Linked DNA regions of Homo sapiens: all the other regions are linked to region 2. Evidence: promoter capture Hi-C in human tissues and cell types (Jung and others, 2019). All regions are on one chromosome and are shown on one strand. Each heading gives the region's core, a stretch centred on a gene start or on the middle of the fragment in contact. The rest is flanking DNA. Distances are from core to core; before and after follow the strand shown.

Evidence for each region. The method cuts DNA at HindIII sites, captures the fragments that hold promoters and counts their contacts. A contact is called where the count stands out against the background at its distance.
Region 1: a contact is called between a fragment that was not itself captured here and the fragment with the promoter of CYP26C1 in region 2, in 1 of the 25 tissues and cell types used here (mesenchymal stem cells).
Region 3: a contact is called between a fragment that was not itself captured here and the fragment with the promoter of CYP26C1 in region 2, in 1 of the 25 tissues and cell types used here (heart right ventricle).

What each region holds. Positions count from the first base shown.
Region 1 is chr10:92,914,341-92,918,374 of GRCh38, forward strand. It overlaps EXOC6 (exocyst complex component 6), which reads left to right. Exons shown (of 22, transcript NM_019053.6): 7 at 1,418-1,573. Among named protein-coding and RNA genes, the nearest start is that of EXOC6, 68 kb to the left of the region's middle. The HindIII fragment of the contact is 5,917 bases long and covers 1-4,034 here.
Region 2 is chr10:93,058,600-93,062,862 of GRCh38, forward strand. It overlaps CYP26C1 (cytochrome P450 family 26 subfamily C member 1), which reads left to right and starts at 2,199. Exons shown (of 6, transcript NM_183374.3): 1 at 2,199-2,868; 2 at 3,411-3,635; 3 at 4,121-4,263. The coding sequence starts at 2,665. EXOC6 (exocyst complex component 6) reads left to right here. Exons shown (of 22, transcript NM_019053.6): 22 at 1-891. RefSeq lists enhancers at 2,217-3,126, 4,080-4,199, 4,210-4,263. The HindIII fragment of the contact is 7,111 bases long and covers 1-4,263 here.
Region 3 is chr10:92,841,116-92,844,880 of GRCh38, forward strand. It overlaps a transcript of EXOC6 not described here. Among named protein-coding and RNA genes, the nearest start is that of EXOC6, 5.5 kb to the right of the region's middle. The HindIII fragment of the contact is 6,111 bases long and covers 1-3,765 here.

The DNA of each region.
Region 1 (4,034 bases), core at 954-3,453, 140 kb before region 2:
AATAGTCAAATAAATTTTGGAAACCTGAGTTAAATAAAGTTAAGCGGATTTCTTTACTTATGAATTGTAAATCTCCTAGGAGGAGGATACAATATGTAATATTTATATAACTCATTTGAACTTAGAACCCTTTTTTCAAGGAACATCTGTTTTTACTGTGTGAATTGTTAGTTTTGTGCATAACATAATTGGGAAACAATACTCTAAATAAATGATTTTATACTCTGAGGACAGAAAATCATTGACAAAATTAGTTTGGGCACAGAGGGAAAGGGAATACACAGGAGTGATAATAATTTTCTCCAGTACCAGCCTCTAGGGGGCAGCCAGGATCAAAGTCTAGGTAAGAGAGGAGCCAGATTACTGCAACTTGCATGGTCTGATAACCTAAGTGTAGAGAAGGGCTGATTGGCAGTTACATGTGCCTTAGAGAGAACTCACCTAAAATAGCCAGTGCACGACCTTTCTATGTGCTAACAGAACAAAATAGCAACAATCTGACCCATCAAAACAGAGAGAATGTCTCGCAGTGTGTAAGGAAATTAAAATCCTGGAATTAAGTTTATATTTTTTTCTATTTCTGGTAATGAAGTTCTGATAGGGAAGTATTACTAAAATGCCTAAAAGTATGAGGGTTCTCAACTTTTTATTCTGTGTAAATGTTGTTTTTTGTCAATGATCAATTGTGGGATAACAGCTTCTACATTCTTAGTCTTCACAAACTGTGGGCATTTTCAGTGGGAAGTAAAATAAGCTTGCAACTTGATGTTATAGTTCCTTCTGTGAGGTTAATGGCTAATTCAGGAAGTTGGGAGTATGGCCAAAGAGTGTTGGCCAGTCCCCCTTGCCAACACACAATATGCCAACTGAGGAAATACATGGTTCTACATAATTTTAAGACTGTTTAAAAAGGAAGAGAAGCTGGGTGCGGTGGGTCACACCTGTAATCCTAGCACTCTGGGAGGCTGGGGCAGGCGGATTGCTTGAGCCAGGAGTTTGGGACCAGCCTGGGCAACATGGCAAAACCCCATTTTACAAAAAAATACAAAAACAAAAAAAACAAAAAAACAAAGAAACATTAGCTGGGTGTGGTGGTGCATTCCTGTAGTCCCAGCTACTCTGGAGGCTGAGGTAGGAGGATCACTGCAGCCTGGGGAGGTTGAAGCTGCAGTGAGCTGTGATGGTGCCACTGTACTCCAGCCTGGATGACAGAGTGAGACCCTGATTTTTTTTTTTTTTTTTTTTTTAAAAAAAGGAAATGAGAAGGCAAAAATCATGAATAAGAAAGGAGACATCACTACAAATTCTATACCTACAGACATTAAAAAGATAAAAAAAAACTATGAACAAATTTTTTGAACCAATTTTGACCATAATCAGTTTTGAAATAATCTGAATTTCTCTCTCTTCAAAATAGGCACAGCATCAGAAAACCTTCAGTGTTTCTCTGCAGAAACAAAATAAAATGAAATTTGGGAAAAATATGTATATAAATCGTGATAGAATTCCAGAGGAAAGGAATGAAACTGTATTGAAACATTCACTTGAAGAAGAGGATGAGAATGAAGAAGAGGTGATAGGTGTCTTTCTTTCTTTTCTATTATTAGATAATTTTTTTTCTTTTGGATTGTAATGTACATCTGTGTGATTTAGTCTTCCTGTATGCAAAATAAATTTATGTTGTAAAAGTTGTCAGAGTCAAAATGGAGTCAGTGTGTCAAACTTTGACAAAATGGAGGCTGAGAAGGCCGTGAAGGGAGGGCTGTCATGGACGATTAGCCTGGTATCAGGAGCTATCACAATAAATTTTTTGAAACCATAGCTTACTGCATCAGCCCTACAAGGACAGCTAGCCGCTTACATGTGAACACTTGTCTGTTTCAAAACAGGCCAGGCACAGTGGCTCACACAGGTAATCCCAGCACTTTGCAAGGTTGAGGTGGGTGGATCACTTGAGGCAGGAGTTTAAGACCAGCCTGGCCAACATGGTGAAACCCTGTCTCTACTAAAAATATAAAAATTAGCTGGGCATGGTGGTGGGCACCTCTAGTCCCAGCTACTTGGGAAGCTGAGACATGAGAATTGCTTGAACCCAGGAGGTGGAGGTTGTAGTGAGCCGACATTGTGCCACTGTACTCCAGCCTGGGAGACAGAGTGAGACCTTGTCTCAAAAAGAAGAAAAAAAACAAACAACTATCTTACAAGGTCAATCCAAAACTGTAAGGGCCTAACCATAACTCCAAAATTACAAGTCCTTTCTAGCAACTAGTGACACTCACCAGTGAACTTTCTTTCAAAACAATTTGCATAACAATCTGTCTCCCCGGTAAAACCCTAACCTCCTTTGTTCTGCAGACATGCCAGAGACCACCCTGGTCTGTGCATGTCCTGGATTTTAATCCTATTTCTTTGTTTATTCTCAAATAAATTTTTTTGCTAGGAAATTTTTCTGTATATATTTTTATTTCAAGTTGACAAAGTCAGTCAGATTGTATTGAGCTATTAGGACAATGGAGTCATCTGAAATGTTGGGCTAGATAATTGACAGATAAACATGATTGTAGATTATATTCCTAAATCTCTGGTAGTGGAATCTGTAGAAAAAGTGTAAATCTAATTTTTCTTTCTTTTTTTTTTTTTTGAGACGGGTTCTCACTGTGTCGCCCAGGCTGGAGTGCAGTGGCGCTATCTTGGCTCACTGCAACCTCTGCCTCCTGGGTTCAAGCAATTCTCCTGCCTCAGCCTCCCAAGTAGCTGGATTACAGGCATGCGCCACCATGCCCGGCTGGCTAATTTTTGTATTTTTATTAGAGACGGGGTTTCACCATGCTGGCCAGGCTGGTCTTGAACTCCTGGCCTGGTGATCTGTCCACCTCGGCCTCCCAAAGTGCTGGGATTACAGGTGTGGGCCACTGCGCCCAAATCTAATTATTTTTATAGTGATTACTTATATTTGAATTACCTGTTGTCAGATTTTTATTTCGTAATGTCTTGTCATTTGGCCTAATTCTGGATAGTCTACCTATTTAAAAAATTGGTGCTGAAATACTACAAAAATAACTCTACTATGATTAGTCTTTTAATGGAAAAAAAAAAAGTTCTAGTAAGTCTAGAAACCTTGAAATTATCCTTAAATATTTTCTTTCTTTCATCTTCTATATCCAAATTCATTCTCTCGTTCTTTTTTTCTTTCTTTTTTTTTTTTTAGAGATAGGGCTCACTGTGTTGCCCGTGAGTGCAGTGGTACAGTCATAGCTCACTACAGCCTGCAACTTCTGGGTCCAAGTGTTCTTCCCACTTCAGTCTCCCAAGTAGCTAGGACTAAAAGCACACTATCACCATGCCTGGCTAATTAAAAAAAAAAAATTTCTTATAGAGACAGAGGTCTCACTATGTTACCAAGGCTGGTCTTGAACTCAGATTATCTTAGCCTCAAATTATCCTCTCACTCAGCCTTCCAAAGTGCTGAGATTACAGGTGTGAGCCACCATGCCCGGCATCCTATTGCTTTCGAAAGTTTTTTCTACAGGGCTTGATGCCGTGGCTCATGCCTGTGATGCTAGCACTTTGGGAGGCCGAGGGGGGCAGATTGTTTGGGCCAGGAGTTTGAGACCTGCCTGGCCAACATGGCGAAACCCTTTTCCTACAAAAAATACAAAAAAATTGCCAGGCATAGTGCCTGTATTCCCAGCTACTGGGGAGGCTGAGGTGGGAGAATCACCTGAGCCAGAGGAGGTTGAGGATGCAGTGAGCTGTGATCATGTCACTACATACCAGCCTGGGTGACAGAGTGAGACGCCCATTTCAAAAAAATAAATAAAATTATCTCCACAGAATCTTCTATTGAACTTACCTTTTATCGTCCTTTTCAATTTTTTTTTAAATTTAGCTACTATCATAGGAACCTTGTTATTCCCAATTAATTTATAAGTTTTGCCTTGCCAATGAGATTTTAAATTCTTTTTCTAAGGACATAATTGGGATGCAGTAAGAATTTTTAGTTGAACCATACGACTATGTGCTCATGACTGCAT
Region 2 (4,263 bases), core at 949-3,448:
ATACATAAATTGTCACAAATTATACATGAAATTGATTACAAATACATTTGAAAAACATATGCCTCTACTCATAAGTATTTTTTTCTATTTAGACTTGAATGATAATCTGTTTTTTGATCAGTATATGGCTTTGGAATTCAATCATGTCTGATATGGTAGTATTTCACTACCATTTTCTGACTTTTAGCTTTTATTTTCACCTCAATGTGATTTAAGCAGACCAAAATTTCTAATTCTGCTAATTCTGAAGGGGAAATAGACAAATCTTAAAAGCTGCCTGAAATCAAACTTGATTTAACTCAGTAAGAATGTGAATTATTTGTTCTACTTGGGTGGTTTAATTTAATCGTTCTGAATATGAACAAAAGGTTTTGGATTTTCTAAAGATGCAGTGTTGTTTCTGTTCATCAGGGTTAATATTTCTAACTATATTGCTTGTAGGTGACCCCATTCTGGATTTGTTTGGTTTGGTTTGGTTCCAGTTAAAAGAGAGGACAGGAACTAAATGGGGCTAACCACTTCAGGTGCAGCTTGTGCGAGGGTAGATGGTTCCTGCACACAGAAGTTACCACAGGGGTCAGGTTACTTTCTTCAAATAGCAGATTTCAGTACTTTATCCTCATTGTGGAAACAAGCCAAACCAAATGAACTCTGGAAAACCTAAAACAAATGTACATTTTCCTTTGTGTATGTTTCCGTGGTCCAAATGGCAATATAAATCCAGTCTTTATTCTCCCTTTGTTGTATTTATGCTGAATCTTCCCTTTGCCTTTTCAGGATTTAGGCCTGTAAGAAACTATGCCTGATTCTGTAAAATAAGTGTAAAGAATTATATGTACATCTCTGGATTTTGTGATGAAATATTAAAAATATTGAGCAAGTTGTTGAAAATGCATTACTATTTTGTCTATTCAGAGCTTACTGATTTAAAACAAGTGCTTCCTGGAGAAAAGGCATATTATTTCCTAGTTACTGGAATGGGAGTGGCACCAAAACAGTATATATACATACACACACACACACACACACATATATATACATATGCGCACTTGTTCTCTCGATCATCTCTTAATCCAAAGTATTTAATGTTTTTAAAAATATTACATGAAAAGCATGGTAGTTCTTCAGGCACGGTGAAATCTGGAGGAGAGGAGCGGTGAACAGCTAGCTCTCTTTGAAGACTGGAATGGGGCTGCCCTTCGCGCCTTACCCAGCCTTCCAGCGTACTTGGGGTGTCTTCCCTGCTTTGGCTGAGACGTCCCGGGATTCAGAGAGATACTGCCTTTGCACTGCCTGGAGGAGACCACTGTGGGACCTCTTTACTCTTACCAATAATATAAACACCCTGCACCCCTCCACACACACCCCAGGTTGCACTGTAGGGACAAGAACGAGTGAGTCCTGAGGCATTTGGAACCCTTGAATGGGACGCACAAAGCCCAAAACGCAACAATGTAGATTGACAAGAGTCGTCGGGCAAACTCGGGGGAGGGAGGGAAGGATGTGCAGGGAAGGATGAATTCGGTCCTTGAGACCGGAAAGGTGCTCGTGGGTATCCGCTTCTGGAGGCTTAGGACGTCTTTATGAAGCCTAGGGCAGTAGTGGAACTGCCATCTTTGGAAGGATACCTGACGTGGTAGATCAGAGAGCCGGGAGAGGTGGGGAGCTGTCGGAGAATCTCGGCTGCGCTATCCCTCCTGGGCTTTTGCGATGCCAACGCAGGCGTCGACGACTGCAGTTTCCCTGAAATAGTCGGAGCAAAGGAGAGAAAAGCCCAGTTCTTTCACCTTGGAGTGGCGAGAGAAAGGCACCTAGAAGCTCGAGGGCGGGGACGGCAGAGGGAGCCAGCGGCCGGGGGTGGGCCAGGAGCACTGCGGGGCGCAAGCCCGGGTCAGTTCTGCGCGTTGGGTTCGCCCACTTTCTGAGCGCCTGCGAAGAGCGGGGAAGCTCTGGCGCGAACCCGCAGGCCCCGCCCGAGGACGCTCGCGGGGCGAGCCCCCAGCCCAGCTCGAGCCGCCCCGGCGCCTGCCACTCCCTACTCAGAGCCCCTCCGTGAGCGCGCCGCTGCCCACCGCCTCCAATCACCACTCTGCGTGGAGCGCTTTAAATATGCAAAGACACGTCACGTTGTGTGAACCGGGATCGGTCCGTAGGGGGGGAGCCAATATCTATATAAACGTGTCCAGCGTGGGCCAAGAAGGGTTAAACGACTGGAGGAGGGACAGGTGGGGCGGGGGTCTGCAGACCAGGTTGGCAACACTGGTGAGTTGCTCTTCTTTCGCCCTCCTTCCCTTCTTCTATCCAAAGGGTGCTGAGCCCGGGAGGAGGTGGGAGGTGCCCCGCGGAGCCGGGAGTGAGCGTTCCCGAGGCAGCAGGCACCTTCGAGAGGGACTGGCATTTGGGCCCAGGAGCCAGGAAAAAGTCCTGAGCGTGCCGGCCTCGAGGAAGGCACGTTCCCTAAGGGCGCACGGTCACTGCAGTCTTTCACCGTCCGTCTGTTTTTAGAACAGAGTTCTGGCCTGAGCTTATAAATCTCGGGCTTTGCCCCCAAACCCCAGGCCTTTTGCGGACGGAACAGGTGAGCACTGCGCACTGCTCGCGCCCCGGTTCTTGCGTCCCCTGCTCTCCCTGCGCTCTGAGCGGCCTGGCCCCCGCGGGCTCATCATGTTCCCTTGGGGGCTGAGCTGCCTGTCAGTGCTGGGGGCGGCGGGCACTGCTCTCCTGTGCGCGGGCCTGCTGCTCAGCCTGGCCCAGCACCTCTGGACCCTCCGCTGGATGCTGAGCCGGGACCGGGCCTCCACCCTGCCTCTGCCCAAGGGCTCCATGGGGTGGCCCTTCTTCGGCGAAACGCTGCACTGGTTAGTTCAGGTGAGCAGTCCTTCGACCCCGAGCGCTAATACGGTCCCTTCTTCCCCCGGCTCCCACTGGACCCTCCTCAGTCTCAATGCCCATGGGATTTGTAGCCAGTCCCTGCCCATCGCCCACGACCCCGGGAAGCGCGCACAACTCTCGCCTTTACCTAGATACTCCGTTCCCTCGAAGGGACCTCAAGTCACTGGAATTCCCCCCAGAGCAACTCCCAGACACAACGCAGGGGGTAAACATAAGGGGTTTTAGGAAGGGGTCTGAGGAGCACGTCCTGCAAGGGTAGAAAAGGAGCCTGGAGCTTGGCCCAGCTGTGAGCCCTTGGGCCCTCACTTCTTCACTCTGAGTCTGTTTCCTCATCTCACCAATAGGAACAGGAGCATGTACATTCCCGTAGAGTAGATACCAGGCCCACTGGGGATCTTGTTTTGTAAACGCGCCAGCCAGGGACAGGAAGTTGTGATCAAAAGGCAGCTGGAAGGTCTGGGTCAGATCCCAGCCCAGGCCCAGAAGTTCCAGCTCTCCACCCTCCGCCTCGCCCGCAGGGCTCGCGCTTCCACAGTTCTCGCCGAGAGCGCTATGGGACAGTGTTCAAGACGCACCTGCTGGGCAGGCCAGTGATCCGCGTGAGCGGCGCGGAGAACGTGCGCACCATCCTGCTGGGCGAGCACCGCCTGGTGCGCAGCCAGTGGCCGCAGAGTGCGCACATCCTGCTGGGCTCGCACACACTGCTAGGTGCGGTCGGCGAGCCGCACCGGCGGCGGCGCAAGGTGAGTGGAAACGGGAATGGACCGTAGATACGTCGGATCCGCGGTCCCCGGCATCTGCCATGGGCCAGGCCGGGGCCCCGGTGTTGGATACACTGTGAACCCGACCAAGGTCCCTGGTAACTAGCGGGTGGCCTTGGGCGGGTCCGTTACCTTCAGCTTCGGTTTATAAAGTTAGGACTGCGCTAAAAGATTCTTTCATCTCCCATCTTCCGTGGCTGTGATAGCAGAAGCGCTGGAGACTCAGACCTAGAAAGGGGCCAGGGAAGACTTCTTAGAGGAGATGGCAGCTGGAGCCTGGATGGTTGGGAGGGACTGTGTGCATCAGAGCAGAACTGGGGGAAATGGCGAAAGCAAAAGCCAGGAAGTTTAGGTCTGGGCCGCTTGGAAGAGGGAGAAAGGACCGGAACTGGCCTTCTGGCTACTCCGGAATCGCCAAGCAGATGAGGCCAGACCGCCGCCAGCGCTGATCACGCGCGCTCCCACAGGTCCTGGCGCGCGTGTTCAGCCGCGCCGCGCTGGAGCGCTACGTGCCGCGCCTGCAGGGGGCGCTGCGGCATGAGGTGCGCTCCTGGTGCGCGGCGGGCGGGCCGGTCTCAGTCTACGACGCCTCCAAAGCGCTCACCTTCCG
Region 3 (3,765 bases), core at 440-2,939, 220 kb before region 2:
TAATTATAGCCACCATTCTGTGCAGTAGATCACCAAAGCTTATTTCTCCCGTCCAGCTGAAACTTTGATTAACATCTTTGATTAACATCTTTCCTTTTCCCATCTATGTCTCTCCTCAGCCTCTGGTAACTACCATTCAACTCTCGACTTCTCTGAGTTCAACTTTTTTAGATTCTACATATAAGTGAGATCATGCAGTATTTGCATTTCTGTGCCTGGCTTACAGTAATGTAAATTTTATTTTGGTTGCATTATATGCAGGGGAGAGAGGTGTCAATTTGAAAAATCACATTCACTAATGCTTATATTTTATACTAATGCAATATCATGACCTGATTTAATCTCTAATGAGAATAGTATAGCGTTCTACATAAAAATGGAGTCCAGAGAAATTGTTCAGAAATAAATTTGGGCCTAACTGTGACAGAGGCTTGCTGCATCTGTTGCACCTCCAAAAAGCCTGGAATGTCTTATGAGACTCGGCTATACAGTTACCCAATTTTTGCTGGACATTTAAGTGATATCATTAGCTATGTGATGTTTATTGCAACACTAGATAAAACTTTAAAAACATTTTTATGTTTAGGAGCCAAATATTCCAACCAGGGGGACAGTTTTGCTTATTTAGTGGTTAAGTGAATGGGTTTTGGAACCAGAAGGATATGGGTTCAAATTCTGCCTTTATAATTACTAATAGAGCTGTTGAAAGGATTAGTTGAATTAGGCATGAAATGTATTAATGAAATGTAATGTCTCATAGCAAATGCTCATTCACTCATTCATTTAGTAAATAAATAATAATGGCACATTTACAATGTGACAGGCAGTGGTCTGGGTGCCGTTGATACAGCAAGATCAAGATCTGGAAAGTCCATGCTCACAGGGAGCTTGTATTTTAGTGAAAAGAGCCAGAAATACACCAAAAAAAAAAGTGTTAATAAGTGCTATGAAGAATAAAAACCAGGCCGGGTGCAGTGGCTCACGCCTGGAATCCCACCACTTTGGGAGGCCGAGGCAGGCAGATCATGAGGTTAGGAGTTCGAGACCAGCCTGGCCAACATGGTGAAACCCTGTCTCTACTAAAAATACAAAAATTAGCCGAGTGTGGTGGTGCACGCCTGTAATCCTAGCTACTCAGGAGGCTGAGGCAGGAGAATTGCTTGAACCCGCGAGGTGGAGGTTGCAGTGAGCTGAGATCACACCATTGCACTCCAGCCTGGGCAACAGAGCGAGACTCTGTCTCAGAAAAAAAAAAAAAAAAAAGGGTAAGGAATAGGAAGATTTAGGGATGCTAATATCCCTAGCCAGGGAGTAAATGTCAGCTGTCATCATCATCATCATCATCATCATCATCATCATTTCATTAGCTACATTTCAAATCCTATTTTGCCAAGAGGAGAGAGAAAAATCGGACAAGGGAGAGGAAAGGGAGAAAGGGCAAAGGGCAGTAAAGGAAGGCTAAGCAGGGAAAGAGAGAGGAATAGAGAGTGCATTGAACAGGATGACGAATAAGAAAACCAACAAGGAGAAGGAAGGTAAGAGTAGGGAGCAGGGACAATTGCTTGTCTTATAAACTGGTGGTGGTGGTGGAGTTGGTGGGGTGGGGGGTGTGTTATTTGAAGGAAAGAGAGAATGGAACTCAGAGAAAATGATATTGTTCTTTAACTGCTCAGTGGACTTTAAAATGTTTAGTTTTGAGGGCTTTCAGGACATTTTTCTGAGGGCAGGGTTGGCAACATAATTTGTGGGGCCCAGGGCAAAATGAAAATGTAGATTCCTTTTTCAAAAATTATTAAGAATTACAAGATGGTGATGACAGGGTATTGAACCAAAGGCAACTGCGTAGGTCACACACCATGAGCCAGCCCTGTCTGAGAGCTTAATACATGAACATGGTACACAGCAAACATTTAATAAAAATAGTTGTTGAATGAACAAAACCCGGGGCTAGTTGCTTTTGAACTCCTCTGAGGACTGGCCCGTATTTTAGAAAAAAACTGATTTTATTTGGCTTCAATTTCAAATTTCCTTCTATTGTTCTCCACCGTGGGGTCCAGATCTTTATGGAACAGCCGATTCCTGCACAGGGTTTTACAGCAGGAATCCTCCCAGACCAGCTGGGCTTTGTTTATTCTCTTGCACTTACAGAGTGTGGCCACTTGGGGTCACCACACCAAAAAGGCAGAAGCTGGAGGAGGGCCCCTGCGACGGTGGACATCTGAAACGAGTGGCTAAAAGCCACTGGGAAGGATTAGTTTATCAGAGCCAATGTATAAAGACTGCCTGTACTTTACATTTTGATACAGTTCTATAATTCTATAACAAGAGCTCTAAAACTCTTTAAGAAACATTTGAATGATGTAAAGTTTTGCGAGGATAATGATAGGGTTCCCAGGGGTGAGGAGGGGAATCTTTTTGTAAATGTGTACCCTACCTCTAAAAGCATGCATTTGGCCGGGCGCGGTGGCTCACGCCTGTAATCCCAGCACTTTGGGAGGCCGAGGCGGCGGATCACAAGGTCAAGAGATCGAGACCATCCTGGCCAACATGGTGAAACTCCATCTCTAGTAAAATACAAAAAATTAGCTGAGTGGGCCGTCGCGGTGGCTCCCGCCTGTAATCCAAGCACTTCGGGAGCCCGAGGTGGGTGGATCACGATGTCAGGAGTTCAAGACCAGCCTGGCCAAGATGGTGAAACCCTGTCTCTACTAAAAATACAAAAATTAGCCGGGCGTGGTGGCTGGCACCTGTAATCCCAGTTACTCGGGAGAGAACTGCTTGAACCTTGGAGGTGGAGGCTGCAGTGAGCCGAGACTGCACCACCGCACTCCAGCCTGGGCGACAGAGCGAGACTCTGTCTCAAAAAAAAAAAAAAAAAAAAAAAAATTAGCTGGGCGTGGTGGCACGTGCCTGTAGTCCCAGCTACACAGAAGGCTGAGGCAGGGGAATCACTTGAACTTGGAGGGCGGAGGTTGCAGTGAGCCGAGATCGCGCCACTGCACTCCAGCCTGGTGACAGAGCAAGACTGTGTCTCAGAAAAAAAAAAAAAGGAAAAAAAAGAAAAACATGCCATTTACAACATTAAGCTTAATACGACAAGTATTTGCATGTGGATCATTCACTTATTAATTGAGCCTCTACTATATGCAAGGCACTGGGCTGGGCAGTGAACAATACAGGCATCGTCCCTGTGCCTGATGTAGGAGCAGTTCCTGGAAATGGAGACAGACTCAGTGATTTGTTCACCACCATGATATGTGCTTCCAAGGATGAGTGAGCACTGCTCCCAAGGACAACGAAAGGTGCTTGCCTTAAAAGCGCAGGATCCAGAGGGTTCACTAAAATGGGTCTGGAACCAAGAATCCAACCCAAAGACATGTTCCTGTTTCCCTCTCTACAAAAGCAGGAAACATATTTCAGTTGGTTTACATCCACCAAACATGCAGAAAACCCTGATACACAATCAGGTTTTTTTTTAATGATTAGGAAAAAGAACATTTATGTGTCTGGTTTTTATTTTTATTTTATCAAAGAGGAGGCTAAAATGCTGGGCTCTCTGGCTTACTAGCAAATGCCTGATAACCCTAGTCGCCAATGCTAATGTTGATTGAGCTCTAGGCTAAACATAATACATATATTATCTTCTTTAATCCTCACATAATTTGGTGAGCTAGGGATTCTTATTGTCCTTAATTCACACTTGAAGAACGTGAGCCTTAGTCAAGTTAAGTAACTCCCTGAGGCCTGACATCTAGTAAGAGATGA